Regions from separate parts of the Homo sapiens genome. Here regions 2, 3, 4 and 5 are each linked to region 1. The links are contacts of gene promoters, found by promoter capture Hi-C in blood cells and fetal thymus (Javierre and others, 2016). All regions are on one chromosome and are shown on one strand. Each heading gives the region's core, a stretch centred on a gene start or on the middle of the fragment in contact. The rest is flanking DNA. Distances are from core to core; before and after follow the strand shown.

The links. The method cuts DNA at HindIII sites, captures the fragments that hold promoters and counts their contacts. A CHiCAGO score of 5 or more calls a contact.
Region 2: a fragment that was not itself captured here is called in contact with the fragment with the promoter of NUDT4 in region 1 in 3 of 17 cell types (naive CD4 T cells, monocytes and megakaryocytes); the score reaches 11.0 in naive CD4 T cells.
Region 3: a fragment that was not itself captured here is called in contact with the fragment with the promoter of NUDT4 in region 1 in 3 of 17 cell types (naive CD4 T cells, total CD4 T cells and naive CD8 T cells); the score reaches 6.0 in naive CD4 T cells.
Region 4: a contact is called between a fragment that was not itself captured here and the fragment with the promoter of NUDT4 in region 1, in 1 of 17 cell types (naive CD4 T cells). The highest score is 7.2, in naive CD4 T cells.
Region 5: a fragment that was not itself captured here is called in contact with the fragment with the promoter of NUDT4 in region 1 in 3 of 17 cell types (naive CD4 T cells, erythroblasts and monocytes); the score reaches 5.8 in naive CD4 T cells.

What each region holds. Positions count from the first base shown.
Region 1 is chr12:93,376,574-93,379,442 of GRCh38, reverse strand. NUDT4 (nudix hydrolase 4) reads right to left here and starts at 1,518. Exons shown (of 5, transcript NM_019094.6): 1 at 1,022-1,518. The coding sequence starts at 1,120. LOC643339 (a long non-coding RNA gene) reads left to right here and starts at 1,707. Exons shown (of 5, transcript NR_040096.1): 1 at 1,707-2,006. RefSeq lists silencers at 887-1,186, 1,407-1,746 and an enhancer at 983-1,922. The HindIII fragment of the contact is 6,665 bases long and covers 1-2,869 here.
Region 2 is chr12:92,772,024-92,774,892 of GRCh38, reverse strand. It overlaps PLEKHG7 (pleckstrin homology and RhoGEF domain containing G7), which reads right to left. Exons shown (of 17, transcript NM_001377329.1): 17 at 2,438-2,869. It overlaps EEA1 (early endosome antigen 1), which reads left to right. Exons shown (of 29, transcript NM_003566.4): 29 at 1-2,869. Among named protein-coding and RNA genes, the nearest start is that of PLEKHG7, 70 kb to the right of the region's middle. The HindIII fragment of the contact is 3,638 bases long and covers 1-2,869 here.
Region 3 is chr12:92,792,742-92,795,610 of GRCh38, reverse strand. The region is part of intron 21 of EEA1 (early endosome antigen 1); the gene reads left to right. Among named protein-coding and RNA genes, the nearest start is that of PLEKHG7, 91 kb to the right of the region's middle. The HindIII fragment of the contact is 2,376 bases long and covers 314-2,689 here.
Region 4 is chr12:92,812,161-92,815,029 of GRCh38, reverse strand. EEA1 (early endosome antigen 1) reads left to right here. Exons shown (of 29, transcript NM_003566.4): 16 at 1,937-2,050. Among named protein-coding and RNA genes, the nearest start is that of PLEKHG7, 110 kb to the right of the region's middle. The HindIII fragment of the contact is 6,905 bases long and covers 1-2,869 here.
Region 5 is chr12:92,838,736-92,841,604 of GRCh38, reverse strand. The region is part of intron 10 of EEA1 (early endosome antigen 1); the gene reads left to right. Among named protein-coding and RNA genes, the nearest start is that of EEA1, 89 kb to the left of the region's middle. The HindIII fragment of the contact is 2,339 bases long and covers 224-2,562 here.

The sequences.
Region 1 (2,869 bases), core at 269-2,768:
TCCAGCCTTAGCCTAGTATTTTATACACGGTTGGTTATGAAAGCAGAACTCAGAATGTTAATTTTTTTCACCTATGTAATTTATCTTAAGAGTGGCAATACCAAAAGGCTACTATTGCCCTAAGCAAACTTCAACAGTTAGCCATTTTAAATAAATACTACTGAATTAAGTAAAAATCGCTCTCCAGGGAAACCCCAAGGGTCTCATTCTCAGCCCAATGCAGATGGGTAAATTATCCAAGAACGACTGCTCTGAGAACGAGAAAGGCTACTCCTTTCCAGATGTCAAGCCAGACAGCAAAGAACCCTTTATACATAAGCTGAGAGCTGGAGATTACTGTCTGAAAATGGCAGCTTTGCCCATCTCTAGTCCATCGTCTCCCTTTTGGCATTATTCCACATTTTTCACTAACCATTTTTCTGCAGTCAGAAAACTTTAAGAAGGGAAGGCCGTTTTAAAAATGAGGCATAATTATGCCAACAGCTTGCGGGTTCATGGACCCACAAGAATTGCCAAGACTAGACTCAATTCCAAGCACGAGGACTGTCTGTTACTCCACAAACATGCTTAGATCGAATCCGAGACCGCAAACGGCTGTAACATGGAAGGAAAATATGTAAAAGAGGCACAAGGGCTCTGCTGCAACACTCACGCCATTTCCACCCTCCTCTCGCTGAGCACTCGAGGTTTATCCGGCTTTCAACTCAATTCGCACGTTAAGATGGTGACTCCCGCTAGGCGAGACTTACGCGGCCCGGGACCTTCCCGGGGACCAGGCGCCTTCTCGAGTGCCCAGATGGAGAAACTGGGGCTGGGCGAGCCCCCTTTGTCTCATCTATCAGCCCAGAGAAAGGAAGGAAGAAGTGAGGGAGGAAAGGAGTGAGGGAGGAAAGGAGGGAGGGAGGAAGGGGGCTAATCCCTCCCAGCCCCGCAGCCTGCGCAGGGGCGGGGAGCGAGGGGAAGCACCCGGGCCCTAGACCCCGGCGCCCCGGAGGGCAGCGTGCGGCGCCGGGCGCCCTACCTCGTCCTCCTGCTCGCTCCGGAAGCACAGGCACGCCGCCCGCTTCTTGAAGCCCTCGCGGTCGTAGGTCCGCGTCTGGTTGGGCTTGAACTTCATCATAGAGGCGGGCTCCTGCTGCTGCTGCTGCTGCTCCGGCCGCCGCCGTGGGGGCCCGGCCGCCGCCACCCCGCCGGGGAGTGGGGGCGAGGGCGAGTCGGGCGCAGGAGCGCCCGGGAGCGCTAGTCGGTGCGGGAGGTGCGGCGAGGCCGGTCAGTCCCGGGGCCGGCGGCCGCTCCGACGCGGGCGGGACGGGACGCTAGCGCGGGTCACTGGAACCAGGGTGCCGAGATGAAAGCTCCGCCTCTGCCCAGTTGTCCGCCGCTCTCCATGGAGCCCGACTCCCGCTCGCCTCCGCTCCCTCCGGCCGTAGCCGCCAGGGGAAGGGCGGCTAGAGGCGCGCGCCACGCGGAGACAGTTGCGAAGACCCGCTCCCACTGAGCAGCAGCACCGCGGCGACCGCGCGCCGCCCCCTCTGCTCTGTTTAAATGAAGCCCACATGCGCCCCGCCTCCCCCGCGCGCCACTGCGCCTGCGTGCAGAGACCATTGCAATGGGGTGGGTGGGTAGGTGTGGCGGGGGAGGTAGGGGCGGGACCTCGGCCGCCCGGTGGGCGGGGCCGCGCGCACTCCCGGGCTGGAGTTCGGCGAGGCCTTGGGACTGGCGCTGGAGCCCAGCGTGGGATGACCGTGCCCCGAAAACATGCCAGTGAATGGAAAGAAGCCAAGGTCCCCTCCCTCCCTGCTTATACCCTCAACTTTGCCAATGAGGACCCTAAATACCAGCTGCACTACAGGGGATGTAACTACATACACCGTCACCAAAGTTGCAGCCTGGCCAAGAAATGCCAGGGGACGTCGCGGCGATTGCAGACTCCGCGGTGACTGTGTAGATACGTCCAGAATTCGCCCTTGTAGCGCGGGGAGAGGCGAGAGTGAAGGCCTAGAAAAGTTAAGACGTTAACTGTTTTTTTTTTCTTTGTTTTCACAAATGGGGGGTAGGCAAATTTCCTTTTTTTTTTTTTGTATTTAAATTTTTAATCTTTGGTTGGGGATGGCTTGTATTATTTAAAGAGTCAACTCTAGCTTAAACGTTTCTTTGAAGCTGTCTATAACATCCCCCACTTTGTGCCACCTTCCGGAAAGTATTAATACTGGCAATGGCTAATAGTTGCGAAATGGTTTTCATGTGGATCTCATGCTAAGTAACAGCGCAGCTGGATGCTGGGGCCACAGCACTAAAATATAATGGGATTTCTGCTATCTGGGAGCTTACAGTACCTTGGGGACTTGGAACAAACAACCTCTACACTTCAGAGTGTTAGAAGGGCTAAGATAGGAGCCAGGAGGCCTGATCTTAAGGTAGCTCGAGAAACCCAAACTCAGGCCATTCTGCCCTTCCACAGAGGCCCAGGTTGCTTGGGTCCTGACTTGGTTGGTTGGTTTTTCACCCCTTGAGGGCCTATTGTGTGTCAGGCACTGGCATCTAACAAAACCAGTCAGCCCCTGCCTCTCCAGGAGCGTAGGCACCTGAGAGCACACCGTCAAATATTAAATGATCACACGTGTACACGTAAAACTACAAATGTAATGGGCTCTAAGGTTTCAGACAAAGATTTGACCAGATCTGCAGTCAGAAAAAGATTATTGGGGCAGCAAGGCAGGAGCTGAGGGCTGAAGGAGGAGGAGCTAAATTGACCAAGAGCTTTCAAGGCAAAGGGAACTGGGATTTCTGCAGAGCCCAAAGTGGGAGGGAGTGAGGAGAGTTCTCAGAAATGAAAGAAAAGGCCAGTGTGGCTGCAGAGCGGAGGCAA
Region 2 (2,869 bases), core at 249-2,748, 600 kb after region 1:
TTCTATTTCTTACCCTATTGGGAAGAATTTTTAAAAGTTGTAAAATTGACTTAAAGTTAAAATGGTTCTGAATTTGGTGTTCCATGTCAACTGTTCCCAGTTTTAATTTTAACTTTGCAAAAATAATGTTGTGAAATTCCCTTTAAGTAACTAACACCTAGAAATAGAGTATCACCAAAAACAAATGTATTTAGGAATCCCAGTTACAATAAAAACTGAAACAGCATGGCTAAGCATCTTAAGGATAATTAAGAAATTAGCTTATTTGTATGCTGAACAATGGAATCGAACTTTAATTTAGCATAGTCTTATTAATTTGGAAAATTGTAAAACATCTCAAGAGAGAAGTTATTAATATTGGTTTATTAATCTTTCTAGAGAAGAAGTGTAGTTATACATTCATTCAGTGCAATCATTTTATAACAGTAGTTAATATTTCATTTATAATAGTTCTTAATATACATTTGCTTTCAAATATTCTGAAATGAAATTATATTCATGCTATACCTACAGTGTATGTAAACTAAAGAGATCACTACATATTTGTTTAATTATTTAAAAAAAAATTTAAGTAAACCCTGTTGTCATTAGCTATTAAGAACATTGATTAAGTCCCTGGACTTGGATAAACATATATCCTTGAACATATATAATGAAGAAATACAGTGGCTCTTTATTAAAAATAATAGTTGGATAATATAAACTGAACTATTTATGCATTTTTATATACTTATAAATCCTTCCAAATAGTTTTAATTCTATCCTTTTACATATAAATAACTTAATAAGTGTGCTGGAAAAACACAGATATTCACAGCACCACTGTTTTTTTTTTTTTTTTGAGATAATAAATTCCATGAGAAATCTGGGTTTGAATATTTGTTTACTTTGTCTCCTAATTGAACACCACTCCAGGCCTTCTGTCTGTCTCCCCTTTACCCCCAAAATACTCACAAAAAAATTTTAAGACAACAAGTAACCATATATAGGTGTTTGAATGATTTTCTCATTTTTATCTAATTTCATTTCATAAGTCCCGAGTAATTTACCTACCATAGGCTACTATACTGATAATATAAATGAAACCGAACATTTTTTGCTACTAACTCTCCCCAATTTAATGTGTTTTCGAAATAAAAATTTAAATTTTTTTCCTTTTAATTAAAAAGTCATCTTTGAAGTCCTTATTGGCTGTACATTTTACATGTTTGCTGGTACTATTATTTTGTCAGTCAGTTAAAGCTGGCATGTACAGCTCTTGGCTTTAATGAAAAGCACATTGACATAATGTTAGTAAATTCCAAACCCCGGCACAGAATGTGAGTTAAAATTAAGTCTTGCTGGGTTAGTGTACAATAAACTATACCTACAGACTTTTTTTTAATAGAAAGAAGACAAAGCTGCTGGTATAGGATTTGTTCCTTTGAAGAAAAAATGAGGGAAACAAACACAAAAACCTCAATGCAGTGTATAAATAACATTTTGTTCAACTACCTCTTAATGTGGAATTATCTACTTTAATAGTTTCCTGACAGTAATGTTAAATAGTAACTGCCAAATTTGTTATTTTCCCATCTCTCTTAAAAAAGTCTTTATGATTATTTTATATAGTTTTGAGAACTTTAAAGCCACTTTTTTTTAACCTTACATTTGCATAAAAATGTTTAGCTTTTAAGTAGAGAGCAAATTATGATCATATATTTTGATATTCATGACCTGTTTGACTATAGGAGTTTTTTTAAAAAAATGCACTTTGGCTATAAAACCATGGATGATTTGATCCATAAGATTTAAATGTGCCACCATTATAGTATTCCTAGACATGAGCTTGATGAATGGTATTCTGTAATTATAACGTGCCACACATTATTGTGTCTTAATTGCCCTTAGCCTGAATTTTAATGATCAATTTGTTATTGTTGCAGATGTGAATATTGTGCATAAACTTACTAAATTTATGTAAAATTGTATAAAATAGAATTAGAAGTCACTAAGTTCTTTCTGTGTAGAAGTAATAAATTTATTGTAACACAATGCAGTTGTGTATATGACATTCTGTAATTCCTTGAACTGGATCATATATTCATAAGTTCTGTAGATACTTATGCATGAACATTTTCTCATTTAGTTTTTGGGTTCATTATTTGTATTGTGTTTACTACTTGTGATCATGTAGTTGTGCCTTACTTTGTGAGAAAGGTTAGCTCAGTAAATACTGCAATTTCTAAACTCAGTGATTGGAAGGTTATTAATTATAAATGTAACTGATAAAGTACGTGACAGCATTTAAATCTGTATAAAGAACAATGGAAGGATCCTTATTGAATTGTTGCTTTTTTTTAATATGTTTAAATATTATATTAAAAACATTTCTTTCTAAACTAGTTGTATTCTGTGACTATAAATTGTTTTGTCTAACAAAAGAGAGAACACTGTATTAACCATTTTGCATTAATTTATTTACAGAATATTAGGACTTTGCACTTGGATATAGACAGTGGTGTTTTAATGTTGTTCAATTTCGAATAGTAATTAAATTCCTGATCTCAAGAGAAATTATTAATGCCATTTTGCCTTAGACATTCCATTTAATATTGTAGAGAATTAACAAAACTAAAAACAAATATAAAAAATATGTAATTAACCCCTTATTTCATTGTGTGTCTGCATTTAATACCCAGATGACCATTTAAAGATACTTAAAACATTATTTATTTATTTATTTATTTATTTTTCTCCCTCCCCTCCCCAAAGATACTTTTTGGAAGGCCCAATGTGCCATTGTTTTTTGCTATTTTTTCTTCCTGGGAGCCACGGTTCTAGAATGGTTTTTGTTCTGACCCCCGTGATCCCTTCATTCGAATGTGCT
Region 3 (2,869 bases), core at 252-2,751, 580 kb after region 1:
CTCATTTTCCACTGCTACAGCCTTAGTCCAGACTTTCTTTTTCTCTTATCTAGGCTGTTAATATAGCCTAATAAATGTTCCGGGCCCTCCAGTCTATTTGTCATTCAATCACTTGTTTCAGAAATATTACTAGGCACTTATTTTATGCCATGGCACAATTCTAGGTGCTGAAGACGACACAGCTGCGAATAAAACAGACATGGGACCTGTTCTTGTGGAGCTTATACTTTAGTGCGTAGAGAAACTAAACAGAGAGGTATGAAAGATAGTGATGGGACATAATTCTACTGAAGGTTGGGTGATCAAAGAAGCTTTGCTGAAGAGATTTGAGTTGATGTTGGTATTTTCTAAAAACAGATGACCAATATGGTTAAATTTGGTTCTGAGGGAGAAGGTAACATGAGATGAGCTCAGATAATTAGACAGGGGCCAGATCATTTATATGCAAATTAGATTATGAGATAACAGAATGGTATATTTTATTCTAAGGGCAATTGGACTCTATTGGAGAATTTAGAACAGAGAATGGTGGGGTTTGACTAAAGGGAAAATAAAGGATTTTGTGAATGATTATAATGATTTGTGAATATATTTTGGAAGTTGCATCATCAGGACTTTCTGATAGATTCAAAAGTGAGAGGTAATAGGAAGAGGATCAAGGATAACTTGGGTTTGTGCATGTGGGTAGTTGGTAATGCCATTTATTGGGGGAAGTAGCAGCTTTTTTTTTTCTTTTATTTAAGTTCTAGTTTACATGTACACAACATGCAGGTTTGATACATAGGTATACATGTGCCATGTTGGTTTGCTGCACCCATCAACTCATCATTTACATTAGGTATTTCTTCTAATGATATCCCTCCCCCAGCCCCCCACCCCCCGACAGGCCCTGGTGTGTGATGTTCTCTGCCCTGTGTCCAAGTGATCTCATTGTTCACTTTCCACCTATGAGTGGGAACATGCGGTGTGTGGTTTTCTGTCCTTGTTATAGTTTGCTGAGAATGATGGTTTCCAGCTTCATCCATGTCCCTGAAAAGGACATGAACTCATCCTTTTTTAAGGCTGCATAGTATTCCATGGTGTATATGTGCCATATTTTTTTTTATCCAGTCTATCATCGATGGACATTTGGGTTGGTTCCAAGTCTTTGCTATTGTGAATAGTGCTGCAATAAACATACGTGTGCATGTGTCTTTATAGTAGCACGATTTATAATCCTTTGGATATTTACCCAGTAATGGGATTGCTGGGTCAAATGGTATTTCTAGTTCTAGATCCTTGAGGAATCGCCACACTGTCTTCCACAATGGTTGAACTAATTTACACTCCCACCAACAGTGTAAAAGTGTTCCTGTTTCTCCACATCCTCTCCAGCATCTGCTGTTTCCTGACTTTTTAATGATTGCCATTCTAACTGGCGTGAGATGGTATCTCATAGTGGTTTTGATTTGCATTTCTCTGATGGCCAGTGATGATGAGCATTTTTTCCTGTGTCTGTTGGCTGCATAGATGTCTTCTTTTGAGAAGTGTCTGTTCGTATCCTTTGCCCACTTTTTGATGGGGTTGTTTGTTTTTTTCTTGTAAATTTGTTTGAGTTCTTTGTAGATTCTGGATATTAGCCTTTTGTCACATGGGGAGATTGCAAAAATTTTCTCCCATTCTGTAGGTTGCCTGTTCGCTCTGATGGTAGTTTCTTTTGCCGTGCGGAAGCTCTTTAGTTTAATTAGATCCCATTTGTCTATTTTGTCTTTTGTTGTCATTGCTTTTGGTGTTTTAGTCATGAAGTCCTTGCAATGCAGGCTCTTTTTTGGTTCCATATGAACTTTAAAGTAGTTTTTTCCGATTCTATGAAGAAAGTCATTGGTAGCTTGATGGTGATGGCATTGAATCTATAAATTACTTTGGGCAGTAAGGTCATTTTCATGATATTGATTTTTCCTATCCATGAGCATGGAATATTCTTCCATTTGTTTGTGTCCTCTTCTATTTCATTGAGCAGTAGTTTGTAGCTGTCCTTGAAGATGTCCTTCACATCCCTTGTAAGTTGGATTCCTAGGTATTTTATTCTCTTTGTAGCAATTGTGAATGGGAGTTCACTCATGATTTGGCTCTCAGTTTGTCTGTTAATAGTGTATAGGAATGCTTGTGATTTTTGCACATTGATTTTGTATCCTGAGACTTTGCTGAAGTTGCTTATCAGCTTAAGGAGATTTTGGACTGAGACAATGGGGTTTTCTAAATATACAATCATGTCATCTGCAAACAGGGACAATTTGACTTCCTGTTTTCCTAATTGAATACCCTTTATTTCTTTCTCTTGCCTGATTGCCCTGGCCAGAACTTCCAACACTATGTTGAATAGGAGTGGTGAGAGAGGGCATCCTTGTCTTGTGCCGGTTTTTAAAGGGAATGCTTCCAGTTTTTGCCCATTCAGTATGATATTGGCTGTGGGTTTACTATAAGTAGTTCTTGTTATTTTGAGATACGTTCCCTCAATATCTAGTTTGTTGAGAGTTTTTAGCATGAAGGCTGTTGAATTTTGTCGAGGGCCTTTTCTGCATCTATTGAGATACCATGTGGTTTTTGTCGTTGGTTCTGTTTATGTGACGGATTACATTTATTGATTTGCATATGTTGAACCAGCATTGCATCCCAGGGATGAAGCTAACTTGATTGTGGTGGATAAGCTTTTTGATGTGCTGCTGGATTCGGTTTGCCAGTATTTTATTTGAGGATTTTCGCATCGATGTTCATCAGGGATATTGACCTCAAATTCTCTTTTTTAGTTGTGTCTCTTCTGGGCTTTGGTATCAGGATGATGTTGGCCTCATAAAATTAGTTAGGAAGGATTCCCTCTTTTTCTGTTGAT
Region 4 (2,869 bases), core at 224-2,723, 560 kb after region 1:
TAGGACTCTGAGAAAAACCTAGTGCTTTAAGTGATATTATTAATAAAAGAATGTCAACCAAAAGTGCTTAGCCAAAGGGTATTAGCTGTAGCCAGCTGTAGCTTAACTGTTAAGGTAATGTTTTTTTCTGGAGTGTCCCTTTAACTATACAAATGAGGCTTTTAAGCTGTTTCTCAGTTTAAAGTTCCATAATACACCTTTTGATCTCTACTTCCACGGTACTTCCTTGTGTGCATGATCAGGACAGCATCAAGGTACATTATTATGCACATGTATGAGGGCACTTCACTGCTTTTACTGTTTTAAGGGCTTTAATGCAAAAGTTGCAACAATTGTAGCCTTGTAGTAATTGGTACTTAGTCATTGCCTATAAAAAGGGCAAACAGAGGGGCTGGCTATATGAATAGCCACATTTCCCCCCCCGCCCCCCATCAGAAGCCTTTCTAAAATAAGGCAAACTAGTGGAGCAATTACTTAATTTCCCCCAAACTTTCTTTATATGCTACATGATTTTGGAATATACATATATTACATTAGTTGAAGCATGCTGTATAAAAAAGATCATGAGTGATTATCATATGTTAAAATATTTCATGAGTTTTTGGTTCCTCAGATAGATGAAATGCCGTATGTAAATAAAGCTGACTTCTGCAAAAATATATTTGTAGTCTATGCTATATATTCATCAGTATAGATTTACTATGTGTTGTTTAAAGGGAAGATTTCTTTAGTTTTCACCTTTAAATCAATGTAAATGTATATACCTTGATGTAACTATTATTTCTGTGAAAATTAAGTATTTTGATATTGAGAAAAAATTATTTGAATTTTTCCTTCAGCTTGTAATTATCCATACAATGTAAATCTTAGATTTCTTATGTTCATTGATCCTCTCTTCAACCAGCTAAAAGAATGCACCCCCCATTTTTACTGTTTTCTCAAAATATGTTAATTTTAAATACATGTTTTTACATATATATTTTCTTTTTTGCTTTTCTTTCTTTCTTTCTTTTTTTCTGAGACAGAGTCTTGCTCTGTCGCCAGGCTGGAGTGCAGTGGCGCGATCTCAGCTCACTGCAGCCTCCACCTCCCAGGTTCAAGTGATTCTTCTGCCTCAGCCTCCTGAGTAGCTGTGACTACAGGTGCATGCCACCATGCCCAGCTAATTTTTGTATTTTTAGTAGAGATGGGGTTTCACCACATTGGCCAGGATAGTCTCGATCGCTTGACCTTGTGATCTGCCTGCCTTGGCCTCCCAAAGTGCTGGGATTACAGGTGTGAGCCACCGCACTTGGCCTATTTTTTGCTTTTCGTATTCGAGGTGAGTTGTACTAAAGGTATTCCAACACTTAAAGGTGTTACTTTTGATAACAAGATAGATCTTTTTGCTTGTTTGATTTTATTGGCAGCCTTGAATTTTTAATATTTAATATTTTGACTGTGAGCTTCAAAAATAAAACCCTTTAAGTGAGAAGTTATCAGGGAATACTGAATTTTACAAAGTGCCAGTTGTCTGGCTGTTTTGAGTCATTGAATTCTGTAATTCTTGATTATCTTCGGAGTAATCATTTTTTGGGGCATGGTTATTTACTTTATCATAATAGTGGTAGACTTTCAGATACTCACTTCTGAAAATACAGTGGCCTTTTTTGGAAAAAAAGTGTACCTTTTCTTTCTTAGCAAAGGAATACTAAAGTGTTTTGGAATCACATGAGGATATCTTTTTATTATTTATCCAGCATTATTAGGAGTCTTCTCCCCTATCATTCCTATTTTGGCGATTTTCACATACATATTTTTCAATATATAAATCCATATGTTTTTGCCAAGGACTTAATTTTTAAATAGTTTGTTTAGTCACAAAAGGAGTGTGCGTTCAAGCAAGAGGAAATCAAGAACTAAATATAAATTAAATAATTTGTAAATGCTGTTACAGATTAAAGCCAAAACCGAACTATTACTATCAGCAGAAGCAGCAAAAACTGCTCAAAGAGCTGATCTTCAGAATCATTTGGACACAGCTCAAAATGCATTACAAGATAAACAGCAGGTAGGGAAACAGATGCAATTTCATACTATCACCTAGTGCTTTGGTAGATAAATAAATTGCAAACATGTAAAGATGATACCCAGTTTTGTATAATCTTGTGATAGACTTGCTTATCCCCCTTAATTTCTCCATGAGTTCCAGTTGAGTAGTAAAAGTGGGGGTCACATAGATGGAGATAAAAATAACAGCTTTGTTTTTGATAAATTTCTACTAGTGTGCAGGTGTGGTTGGTTTCCTGATATTGTCCTTCTCCCCTAGCCTAGACCTTGGTGTAGAGCAGTAATGTTTCCTCCTAACTTTTGAATTGTTGCCCCATCCCTTCAAGTGTTGGTGATTGGATGGGGCAGACCACCACATTTGTTTTTAGTAGGTAGACTGGACCATGACCCAAATGTACTTGCCACTTGGAAACAGGAAAAGAACACTGTATATTCTACCTCAGTTATAAGAGTTACTCCTTTCTTGGTAATAGGAGGAAGTGAGGAGCTGGAGGGAATACAGAAGCGATACTCTGGTAGAATAGAAGCATCCTACTTTAGGGTCACGGTGAATGTTGCTGGTAGATTTTTCTTAGCTTTTACTGGTAGAAATTTTTAAAATTTACTTGTTATTCAGGGAGTAATATTAGTTATTGGTCTTTTTTTTTTTTAGATGGAGTTTTTTGCTCTTGTTACCCAGGTTGGAGCGCAATGGTGTAATCTTGGCTCACTGAAACCTCCACCTGCCGGGTTCAAGCAATTCTCCTGCCTCAGCCTCCCAAGTAGCTGGGATTACAAGCATGTGCCACCGTGCCTGGCTAATTTTGTATTTTTAGTAGAG
Region 5 (2,869 bases), core at 144-2,643, 540 kb after region 1:
CATATGCAACAAAACTGGGTTTCATTGTTGTTATTGAGTTGTAGGAGTTCTTTATATATTCTGGATATTAACCCCTTATCAGATATGTGATTTGCAAATATTTTATCCCATTCTGTAGGAATGTTAAATTTTGATGTAGTCTAATTTATCTACTTTCATTTTTGTTAAGGTCTATTTGGTGTCATATCCAAAAAATCATTGCTAAACCTAGTGTCATGAAGCTTTTCTTTTGTTTTCTTATAAGAGTTTTCTAATTTTTAGGTCTTATGTTTAGGTTTTTGATCCATTTTGATTTAATTTTGTATATAGTATAAGGTAAGGGTCTAATTTTATTCTTTTATACATGGATATCCATTTTTCCCAGCAACATTTGTAGAAAAGACTGTCCTTTCCCCGTTGAATAATCTTGGCACCCTTGTCAGAAATTATTTGACCATTGTCTTAGTCTGTTTGGGCTCCTATAATAAGATACTATAAACTGGGTAGCTTATAAACAATAGAAATTTATTTTTTACTATTTTGGAGGCTGAGAAGTTCAAAATCAAGGCACTAGCAGATTTGGTGTCTGGTGAAACATTGCTTTCTGGTTCATAGATGGTGCCTTCTCACTGTGTCCCACATGGTGAAAAGAACAAGAGACCTCACTGGGGCCTCTTTTGTAATTCCATTCATGAGAACTCAACCCTGAGGACCTAATTACCTCTGAAATGCCCCATCTCCTAATACCATCTCCTTGAGGGTTAGAGTTTCAGTATATGAATTTTGGGGGGACACAGACATTCAGACCATAGCAACAATATATGCAAAGGTTTATTTCTGGCTCTCTATTCTATTCCATTGGACTCTATGTCCATCTTTATGCTAGTACCACACTGTTTTGATTACTGTAGCTTTGTAATAAGTTTTAAAATCAGGAAGATAAGCCTTCAACTTTGTTTTGTATTTTTAAATGTTAGTATTTTCTGTATTGTTTCTTTATAAATGAGCAACATTGGCCAGGTGCGGTGGCTCACGCCTGTAATCCCAGCACTTTGGGAGGCCAAGGCGGGCAAATCACCTGAGGTCAGGAGTTTGAGACCAGCCTGGCCAACATGGTGAAATCCCATTCTATTAAAAATACAAAAATTAGCTGGGTGTGGTGGCACATGCCTGTAATCCCAGCTACTTAGGAGGCTGAGGCAGGAGAATCACTTGAACATGGGAGGCAGAAATTGCAGTGAGCCGAGATCATGCCACTGCACTCCAGCCTGGGCCACAGAGTGAGATTCCATCTCAAAAAATAAAGAGCAACATATAGTATTTTGTTTGGGGTTAGGGGAGGTACTAATATTAATACTTTTTCCCTTTGTCTTTACTTTTTTGGTGGTGGGGCAGTAGAGAGTTATGAAACCCTTTTATTCAGAGATGTGAATGTGTTGGTTAAGTTGTAATAACTTAACATTTTCGTGAAATATAATAAGGAAAAAGTCAAGAAAGAAAAAAATAGGGCATAAGGGAATAAAGAGAAATATAATTAGCTATAAATATTAAACCTCCTGCCAACAGCCATGTGTATGAGCTTGAAAGTAGATGCTCCAATCCTAGTCAAGTTTTCAGAAACTGTAGCTCTGGCCAGCAGCTTACTATAACCTCATGAGAGACCCTGAGGTGAAATCACCCAGTTAAGCCACTTCTAGATTCCTGACCCTCAAAAACTATATGATATAATAGATATTGTTTTAGGCTGCTGCCATGAAGTTTCAGGGTAATTTGCTGCCATGAAGTTTCAGGGTAATTTGCTGCCCTTGGCAAGCACTTCTTTTTACATTCTCAAAATGATTAAGGACTCCAAAGAGCCATTTTTGGGTGAGGTTATATCTATGGACACTTGTCATATCGAAATTTAAAAGTAATTTAAAAATATTAATTTATTTAAAAAACATTAACTCATTAAATATTAACATAAATAGCATTTCTTATGAAAAATGACCATTTTCTAAAACAAAAGAATTCAGCAAGAATAGTTGTGATGTTTCACATTTTTGGAAACCTCTTTAATGTCTAGCTTAATATAGGACAGGTAGATTCTCATATCTGCCTTTACATTAAATCTATTGTAGTATATGGTTGAAGTATATGAAGAAAATTTAGTCTCATACAGATATGTAGTTGGAAAAGGAAGGAATATTTTAATACTTTTTCAGATAATTGTGGCTTTCTTTATTTGATACTGTGCTCAAATTTGATAATAGTGTCTTAAAAGTTAGTGACAATGTGGAATCTGAAACCGAGTCAGTGGACTTTTTGTACACTGTAACATTAAAATTTGATCTATCTTGCCTTTTGAGTGGATCTTTTCCTGTGCGTGATTTTATAAGATCATGCATTAGTCATGTGGAAAATATTGGTTCACTGAGTTACTCAGATCTTCCAAATTTTGATACATTTTATTGTACAATATAAAAACAGTCACATTTGTCAATATCACCATCAATCTCAGATTAGGCTTTAAATATGAGGAAGCTGTCAAGCTCATGGTGGTGGATACATGTTTTCCAAAATTCTAAGCTGTATTTGAAAGCTTGAGTTTTATCACTGGCAACAAATACTATCAATTCTATTCTTTAAAGTGACAGATTCCCTTCCTACTCAAGTCCGAATATTAATAGTCTGTCGGTCTTTCTAGTAAAAGTGGTGTTTCATAAAAAAAAAAGTGTGGCTAGTTCAGTATAACTCAATCACATGAGTACTTTTCTTCATGACAACTGTATTATACTTTGGTGTGGAGGAGAAATGGTCCATGTATACTTTCTATTTTTTATTTTTCTTGCTACTACAAATATTCAAATATTATAGCTATGAACATTCATATATAAATCTTATGCATTAG